2 separate regions of the Homo sapiens genome follow, and region 2 is linked to region 1. Evidence: promoter capture Hi-C in 16 types of primary human blood cells and fetal thymus (Javierre and others, 2016). All regions are on one chromosome and are shown on one strand. Each heading gives the region's core, a stretch centred on a gene start or on the middle of the fragment in contact. The rest is flanking DNA. Distances are from core to core; before and after follow the strand shown. Region 1 holds the start of RMND1 (required for meiotic nuclear division 1 homolog). Region 2 overlaps SHPRH (SNF2 histone linker PHD RING helicase).

Region 1 (4,000 bases), core at 668-3,167:
TTTTAATTATTTTCAAAAATTTTCCCCTTCTCTGCCTTCTCTATCTGCACAATGGACTCCTTCCATCCTATTCTGCCCCTAAGCAAATGAAGGCGTGCTACTGTCTCTTCCCACTCAAAAAATCAGAGATTTTATAGAAGTGTTCAAGAATGAAGCAAGCTGGAGATGAAGAAAAACTTATACCTGCATTAAAAAATTAAAGATATTCTTGATTTTATTCATACAAAACCCAAGATTTACAGATTATCATTTTATATCATTCTAAGGAAATACATGATACAGGTAGAAAAAAAGCTTTATTTGGTGGAGAAATTCTGTGCAGTTTTAAATATAGAGCACAGAGCTTAGCTGACTAGTGTTTTTATCTCCAGATCACAGGAGACAATTGTTAAATTACTAGATTGTAACTTGGGTATTTCTTCAAAAGGTTTCCTCAAATGATAGCTATAGAACTTTAAGAAAAAAACTGCACACACTTTCCGACTCTGTGGTGCTTTCAGTACCACCCAAAACAGTGATTAGGTTTTAATGCGCATAATAACTACGTTGATCAGAATTTAATTTTTAAAAATCATTAATAAAAGAAATCACTAATACCTCAGAGGGTGAGCAGGAACATTAAATCAACTGTCACTTGAATTTTCCCAGGCAGTAGGTATAGTAAGTCCTTTTTTGAGATTTTACTTTAATTGGAAAGTATTACTGTTTTCCTAACTACTACATTTCCTGCACCTCTGGAACAAAGTCTCTGGCCAGGACTGGAGTGAGGCCAGAAGCCCTAGGGCGCAAAATTGAAGGAGATACTCTCTATACTTGCATGACCTGAAACAGTGACTGCCTCAATTTGGGGCCATTGGCGCCACTTTGTTGGCCTCAACCTACTTTCTGCCCAGGTTTATTTTCTTCAAAGTGTTCTCGTCTTTTGCAATATTTTGAAGTAAGGACAAATTTCAAATATAAATTTGGCCATTCGATTTATGCAAATGGATGTTATTTGCACGGTCACCCACAACTTTACCCAAGAATCAGTAGCGTGACGACTATAAAGCAAAAAACTAGACAGTTCTTACTGTGAGATTACGATTTGATCAACAACAGGGAGAAACCCGTTTCTTAATAGCGCTGAGATCCCCAACTCTTACGCAGAATTTTAACGCCCCCAAAGCGCGTCTATTAAAGTGAATAAATAAAAAGTGACCGCCAGGAACAGACCGCGAAGCTGACCCCTGTCCTGATCCTTACGAGCAGCCGCCGCGGGCAGGCTCCCTCCCCGGGGCCGCCTCCCTTCGCCTCCGAGCCAGTCCGCGAAACCCGCAAAGGCGCCCCGGAAAGCCGCGCCCGGCGGCGGGACTCGAACGCAGCCCACCGGGGAGCGGGCGCCCTCCGCTTAGTCCCCACAGGCTCCCGGCGAGGCCCGGCTTTCCGCAAAAGTGGGGAGGAGAAAAGCTAGACTAACCCCACGTCCTGTCCTGAGAGAGACGCCGGGACGACAGCCATCACTTTCCGCGATCCCGGCCGCAAAGCTCGGCTGTTCAATCGCCGCAGAAACAGAGGCGGTACCGCCGCGAAGGAGGAGCTGAGAATGGGGGTGGTGTGGCTTTAAAAAAAAAGTGCTTTTGAATAAAGAAACTTTATTTGGTGCCCGATCAAACGGCAAACAGTGGCTCGCCAGAAGACCCAATCTTCCGGGGACGAAGGCGGGGCCAGCGGAGGGCGACTAGAGGAGCGGATATGGAAGCGAGCGAAAGCCGGAAGCAGGCAAGGGACCGGGAGGTCCCAGGGCCTAGGGAGCGGAAGAGGTCGCGGCGACGCGGCTCACGTGGTCAGACAGTCACGTGGCCCGAGTTTCTCCCGCTAAGTGGGACCAGAGTTCAGTGCGGCTGCGCAGTAGCGGGGGTGGGCGGGAGCGCCCTTCCAGGAGATGGGTTGGCTGCAGTAGTGAGAGGCTGGGGGTGCGGCTCTTTCCCTGCAGTCCTGCCGAGGAAGCGTGCGTCCCTGGCGCTTCCTTCTTCTCTTCCGGCGGAGAGGTTAGTGTATTGCCTTTTCTTTAGCAGCTCGAGTGGTCCGGCTTGGAGGTCTGCGCCCTGGCTCCTGGCCGCCCGGAACGTGTACAGTTACGGGTTACGCCAGTGCGGCTGTGACCCTTTGCCTCTTACCGTGATCTTTGGTCAGCTTAGCTGGGAGTAAAAAGCACTCAATTAATGAACCCTTTTTTTGAGCCAGTGCACCGCGGTAACTGTAGAAATCGATAAAATAATTTTGAGTTTGAGGAATTGAACGGCATACTCCCAAAGATGAGCGCCACTTAGCTCTCGAATCGTAGCCTAGCTGTAATCGATTTTCTTAATTGGTGTAATTGTTCTCTAAAAGTTGAAATGTGCCCGGGAACTGAGTAACTGCCTTGTATTTCATTTTAAAAATTCGATCGAATGCCTACTATGTGCTGGGCGCTATTGTCAGGAGATATAATAGGAAAAAACACAAATCCGTATCCTCAGGGAGCTTCCATTCTGGAAGGAAGACACAAAAATCTGCCCTTTCCTCTTATTTTTTTCCTTTAGCTTTGTGTCTCACGTATTTTACTGATTTACCTCGTTTTGTCTGTCACTCCCAATGCAAGGTTCAAAAGATTCAAAAGATAGGATTTTTGTCTATTTTATTTTCAGCTGTATTGTCAGCAACTAGGACAATACCTGGCACATGATAAGAACTGAGTTCGTTTGCAGTATGAATTAATAAACTAAAAATTAAAGGTGTGCAAGTGATGTTAAACAATGGAGAAATGCAAAGTGGAGGAAGATAAGAGAATGGATGCTGGTTGTGTTTTTTTTTTTTTTTTTTTTTATTGATCATTCTTGGGTGTTTCTCGCAGAGGGGGATTTGGCAGGGTCATAGGACAATAGTGGAGGGAAGGTCAGCAGATAAACAAGTGCACAAAGGTCTCTGGTTTTCCTAGGCAGAGGACCCTGCGGCCTTCCGCAGTGTTTGTGTCCCTGGGTACTTGAGATTAGGGAGTGGTGATGACTCTTAACCAGCACGCTGCCTTCAAGCATCTGTTTAACAAAGCACATCTTGCACCGCCCTTAATCCATTCAACTCTGAGTGGACACAGCACATGTTTCAGAGAGCACAGGGTTGGGGGTAAGGTCACCGATTAGCAGGATCCCAAGGCAGAAGAATTTTTCTTAGTATGGAACAAAATGAAAAGTCTCCCATGTCTACTTCTTTCTACACAGACACGGCAACCATCCGATTTCTCAATCTTTTCCCCCCCTTTCCCCCCTTTCTATTACACAAAACCGCCATTGTCATCCCGTCCCGTTCTCAATGAGCTGTTGAGTACACCTCCCAGACGGGGTGGTGGCCGGGCAGAGGGGCTCCTCACATCCCAGTAGGGGCGGCCGGGCAGAGGCGCCCCTCACCTCCCGGACGGGGCGGCTGGCCGGGCGGGGGGCTGACCCCCCCACCTCCCTCCCGGACGGGGCGGCTGGCCGGGCGGGGGGCTGACCCCCCACCTCCCTCCCGGACGGGGCGGCTGGCCGGGCGGGGGGCTGACACCCCACCTTCCTCCCGGACGGGGGCTGGCCCCCCCACCTCCCTCCCAGACGGGGTGGCTGGCCGGGCGGGGGGCTGACCCCCACCTCCCTCCCGGATGGGGTGGCTGGCCTGGCGGGGGCTGACCCCCACCTCCCTCCCGGATGGGGTGGCTGCCGGGCGGAGGGTCTCCTCACTTCTCAGATGGGGCGGCCGGGCAGAGGCGCTCCTCACATCCCAGACGGGGCGGCGGGGCAGAGGTGCTCCCCACATCTCAGACGATGGGCGGCCGGGCAGAGACTCCCCTCACTTCCTAGATGGGATGGCGGCCGGGAAGAGGTGCTCCTCACTTCCTAGATGGGATGGCGGCCGGGCAGAGACGCTCCTCACTTTCCAGACTGGGCAGCCAGGCAGAGGGGCTCCTCACGTCCCAGACGATGGGGGGCCAGGCAGAGGCTGCAATCTC
Region 2 (4,189 bases), core at 830-3,329, 5.5 Mb after region 1:
AGCAAAAGGCTTTTATATTTAAATACAAGACAGTAAAAGTGCGGTCCATATAGAAAACTTCACATAATTACGTTTTACCCAAACACTGCTAATTAAGGAGGAGGAAGAAGTAGTTGTGACTGATAAGGTATGAATAAAACCAGAAGAATATGGGATGTGGTTAGATACAGAATTTCACCAGTACTTGACTTACTAGTTGCCAAATTGCATTTTAGTCATAAGTATATTTGACCAAATACTATTTTCTTTGGTTCAAGAAGTTAACCCTGAATAGAGATTTCCTTAAGTAAAGACTCAGTCAAAACCAGGAGCTTTTTGTTTGGTTGGTTGATTTTTGATCATGAATGTTTACTCAGTTAAGAACTGGACAAAGGGAGAGCATTGCTAGAAATTCTGGTGTTGACTTTTCTGCAGTTTATCATTATCACTGATAAGTACCTTGAGGCACTAATATTGGAAGAATCAGGCTGAAAGAATACATCTGAAGGAATGTGCAAATTATAATGGTGTACATAATTTAAAAGATACTGGATAGGTTTTACCAGAGAACAGAATAAATAGTTGAAGTAATGTTTTCTGGTTTGGTAATATGTCTGTTACAAAATTATTGTGGGAAACATGGCACATATTACTTCTCACATTCCATTGGCTAGGACTGGTCACAGGACCAAACCAAGCTGGGCAGTCATTTCTCAACTACTCTATACTTTGAGTGGAAATAAGTGGATTTTAGTTGGCAGCTGGTTATCCATAACAAGGTTTTTTGAACTTGGCTGCACCCTGGAATTTTTTAGGGATTCTAAAAAATAAAGGGAGTAGTGCCTGGGCCCTTCTCCAAGACATTCTGACTTAGTTGGCTCGACATCAGGATTTTTTTAAGTTCCCCTGGTGATTCTAATGTGCAGTCAAGTTTGAGAAGCACTAATCTGTGGTCCCCCATCCTGCGACATTACAGTTTGGTTATTGTGAAATGTGGTTTAGAGCAGGGGTCCCCACCCCTCAGGCCATGGACCGGTGCCAGTCCGTGGCCTGTTAGAACCGGGCTGCATTGCAGGAGGTGAGTTGCGGGCAAGCGAGCATTACCACCTGAGCTGTGCCTCCTGTCAGATCAACAGTCAGTAGATTACCATAAGAGCATGAATGCTATCGTGAACTGCATATGCGCAGGATCTAGGTTGTGCACTTCTTATTAAAACCTAATGCCTGATGATCTAAGGTGGAATAGTTTCATCCCTAAACAACCCCCTCTCCACTCCACCCCTCTCCTCCGGTCCATGGAAAACTTGTCTTCCATGAAACCCATTTATGGTACCAAAAAGGTTGGGAACTGCTGGTTTAGAGTGTTCTCAGGATGATGATAAGTAGCAACTACCATTTATGGAATACAGGCCAAATTTCTAGTACTGCTGTTGTACTTAAATTATTTCTAACCACAATCCTGCTATCATCCCCATTTTAGAGATGAGAAAATTGGCACAGAAGACTGGATAACTATTCCAATGCCACACAGTCAGTAAATGCCAAAGCTGGAATTAGAATGAATATAAGACTTCAAAGCATTGCATTCTCACCTTTAAGCCACATCGCTTTGCTAATGTGAGACTCTGCTAGACAGTTGCTTTTTGGGTTTTCAGAGTTAATGATTCCACAATAACCATGTTATTAATATTATTATGGTTAGTGTGATACATTGTGTAACTGGCCCAATTCCCTTCCAACACTCCCTCTACCCTTCCACCCCCCATATCCATGCTCTTTGCCATGTGCAGTTTCACCTAGTAAAGAGGTGTAGTATATTTCTTCACCACTTGACATTGGGTCCATGGATATGTCTTGCTTTGGTCTGTGGCACCTTAGTGGTTTTTAAGCACTTTGAAAACTACTTGTGTGATTGGATTTGCAGTAATACACCTCAACCATTGCCATAAAGAACATTCCTGAGTTACTTTGCTGATCCAAGGAGAGGGGATAGGAACTACATTAAGCAGAGCCAAACTGCTTTTCCAGAAACCTAGCCTAGATTAGCCTCCTTCAGCTAATGTGCAGATCTATGAGAATAAATGATTGCTATATCAAGGTATTGAGCTTTGAGGTAGTGTGTTACACAGCATGTTTGTGGCAGTAGTTAACTGATAAGCTACTATAGCATAACTTTTTAAAGTTCCTGCAGAGTGACCCACTTTCAGTATTCCAGCTTATGCTTTGAGGAAAACTGGACAAACATAAACACTTAGGAAATTAAGAGCTTTCTATATTATTCCACTAAGATAAGAGAGGATAAGATGCTTTAAAAGTAGTTGACCATAGCCAAGGATTGATTTTAATCCATCACCTGCACATTCATAAGTGAAGCACGGGCTAAGGGAATAGAATTCTCATGATTGACTTAAACAAGCACTGTCTGATACATAGACTTTTTGCAATTATGTGAATGCTCTATATTTGTGCTGTCCAGTACAGTAGCCACTAGTCACATAGCGCTACTGAGCACATGGGGCTAGTGAGACTGAAGAGCTGAGTTTATAACATTTAATTTTATTTATAGTCATGCATCACTTAATGATGGGGCTGTGTTTTGAGGAATGCATCATAGGCAAGTTTGTTGTGTGAACATCTTAAGAGTATACTTACACAAACCTAGGTGGTACCGCCAGCCTACTACACACCTAGGCTCTATGGTACAGCCTGCTGCTCCTAGGCTACAAACCTGTACAGTATATTCGGTACTGGATACTGTAGGCAGTTGTCACACCGTAGTATTTGTATATTTAAACATATTTAAATATAGAAAATGTACAATAAAGATATGGTATAAAAGATAAAAAATAGTACACCTTTGTGGGGTACTTAGCATGAATGCAGCTTATAACACTGAAGGTTGCTCTGGGTTAGTCAGGGAGTGAATGTGAAGGCCTGGGACATTACTGTACACTTCTGTAGACTTTGTAAACACTGTACACTTATGCTACACAAAGTTTATTAAAAAATAAAGTAATGCGGCTAGGCGCGGTGGCTCACGCCTGTAGTCCCAGCACTTTGGGAGGCTGAGGCATGCAGATCTTGAGTTCAGGAGTTCAAAACCATCCTGGCTAACACATGAAACCCCGTCTCTACTAAAAATACAAAAAAAAAGTTAGCTGGGCATAGTGGCAGGCGCCTGTAGTCCCAGCTACTCAGGAGGCTGAGGCAGGAGAATGGCATGAACCCAGGAGGTGGAGCTTGCAGTGAGCAGAGATCACGCCACTGCACTCCAGCTGGGCAACAGAGTGAGTCTCTATCTCAATAAATAAATAAATAAATAAATGCATTATGATGTTACAATGGCTATGATGTCACTAGTCCATAGGAATTTTTCAGCTCCCTTATGGAACCACTGTAATATTTGGTCCCTCATTGACCAAAATGTCATTATACAATGCATAACTGTATTGAAAGTTAAGTAGTCACATGCAGCCAATAACTACCTTATTGGATTTGCTTTGGCCAATAGTAGCTAGAAACTACTTCCTTGGAGGTGCCAAGGAAATCACTTCCTTTGAATCATAGGGCCACCTTGTTCCTAAATAAAGGTTCAGTCATCAGGGAAGGAGGATAGACCTTAGGCAGGTAAATAATGTCACTTTAGTTTCTTTTATGGTTATTGGTCTATTCATATTTTCCTTCTTGGGCCAGTTTTGTTCATTTGTATTTTGTTAGCAAAATTTTATCACTTTATAATTTATCATTTTATCTAGATTTTTCAGATTTATTGAATAAAGTTATACTTAATATTAAAATTTCTAAATCTCGTGCATCTTTTTGTTTTTGCTCTTTAAATCAACTTTATGATATAATTTATGTATAAGAAAATTCAATTTAAAGTATATAATTTGATGAGTTTTGACAGATGTATACTCTGCAATCATGTGTTGAACATTTATGTCACCCCAAAGCCTGCCTTCCTGCTCCTTTACTGTCAGTCACCTCTTTATACTTCCTTGCCCCTGGTAACCACTCATCTACTTTCTGCAATCAGGTTTTTGCCATTTCTAGAATTTCATGTAAATGGAATCATATAGTATATAGTCTTTCACATCTAGCTTTCTTCAGTTTAGCATAATGCTTTAACAGTTCATTCAGGTTATTTTACAGAAGTCTCTTTTTATCACAGAATAGTATTCCATTGTGTGACTATGCCACAATTTGTCCA

What was found. Contacts are between HindIII fragments. The CHiCAGO score rates a contact against its expected background, and 5 or more counts as called.
Region 2: a contact is called between a fragment that was not itself captured here and the fragment with the promoter of RMND1 in region 1, in 1 of 17 cell types (naive CD8 T cells). The highest score is 9.2, in naive CD8 T cells.

The regions. Positions count from the first base shown.
Region 1 is chr6:151,450,043-151,454,042 of GRCh38, reverse strand. It overlaps RMND1 (required for meiotic nuclear division 1 homolog), which reads left to right and starts at 1,917. Exons shown (of 12, transcript NM_017909.4): 1 at 1,917-2,027. DCPH1 (damage control phosphatase 1) reads right to left here and starts at 1,577. Exons shown (of 5, transcript NM_024573.3): 1 at 1,457-1,577. The coding sequence starts at 1,497. RefSeq lists a silencer at 1,220-1,339 and enhancers at 1,500-1,949, 2,140-2,189. The HindIII fragment of the contact is 8,083 bases long and covers 297-4,000 here.
Region 2 is chr6:145,957,944-145,962,132 of GRCh38, reverse strand. All of the region lies in intron 1 of SHPRH (SNF2 histone linker PHD RING helicase), which reads left to right. Among named protein-coding and RNA genes, the nearest start is that of SHPRH, 4.3 kb to the left of the region's middle. The HindIII fragment of the contact is 5,758 bases long and covers 1-4,189 here.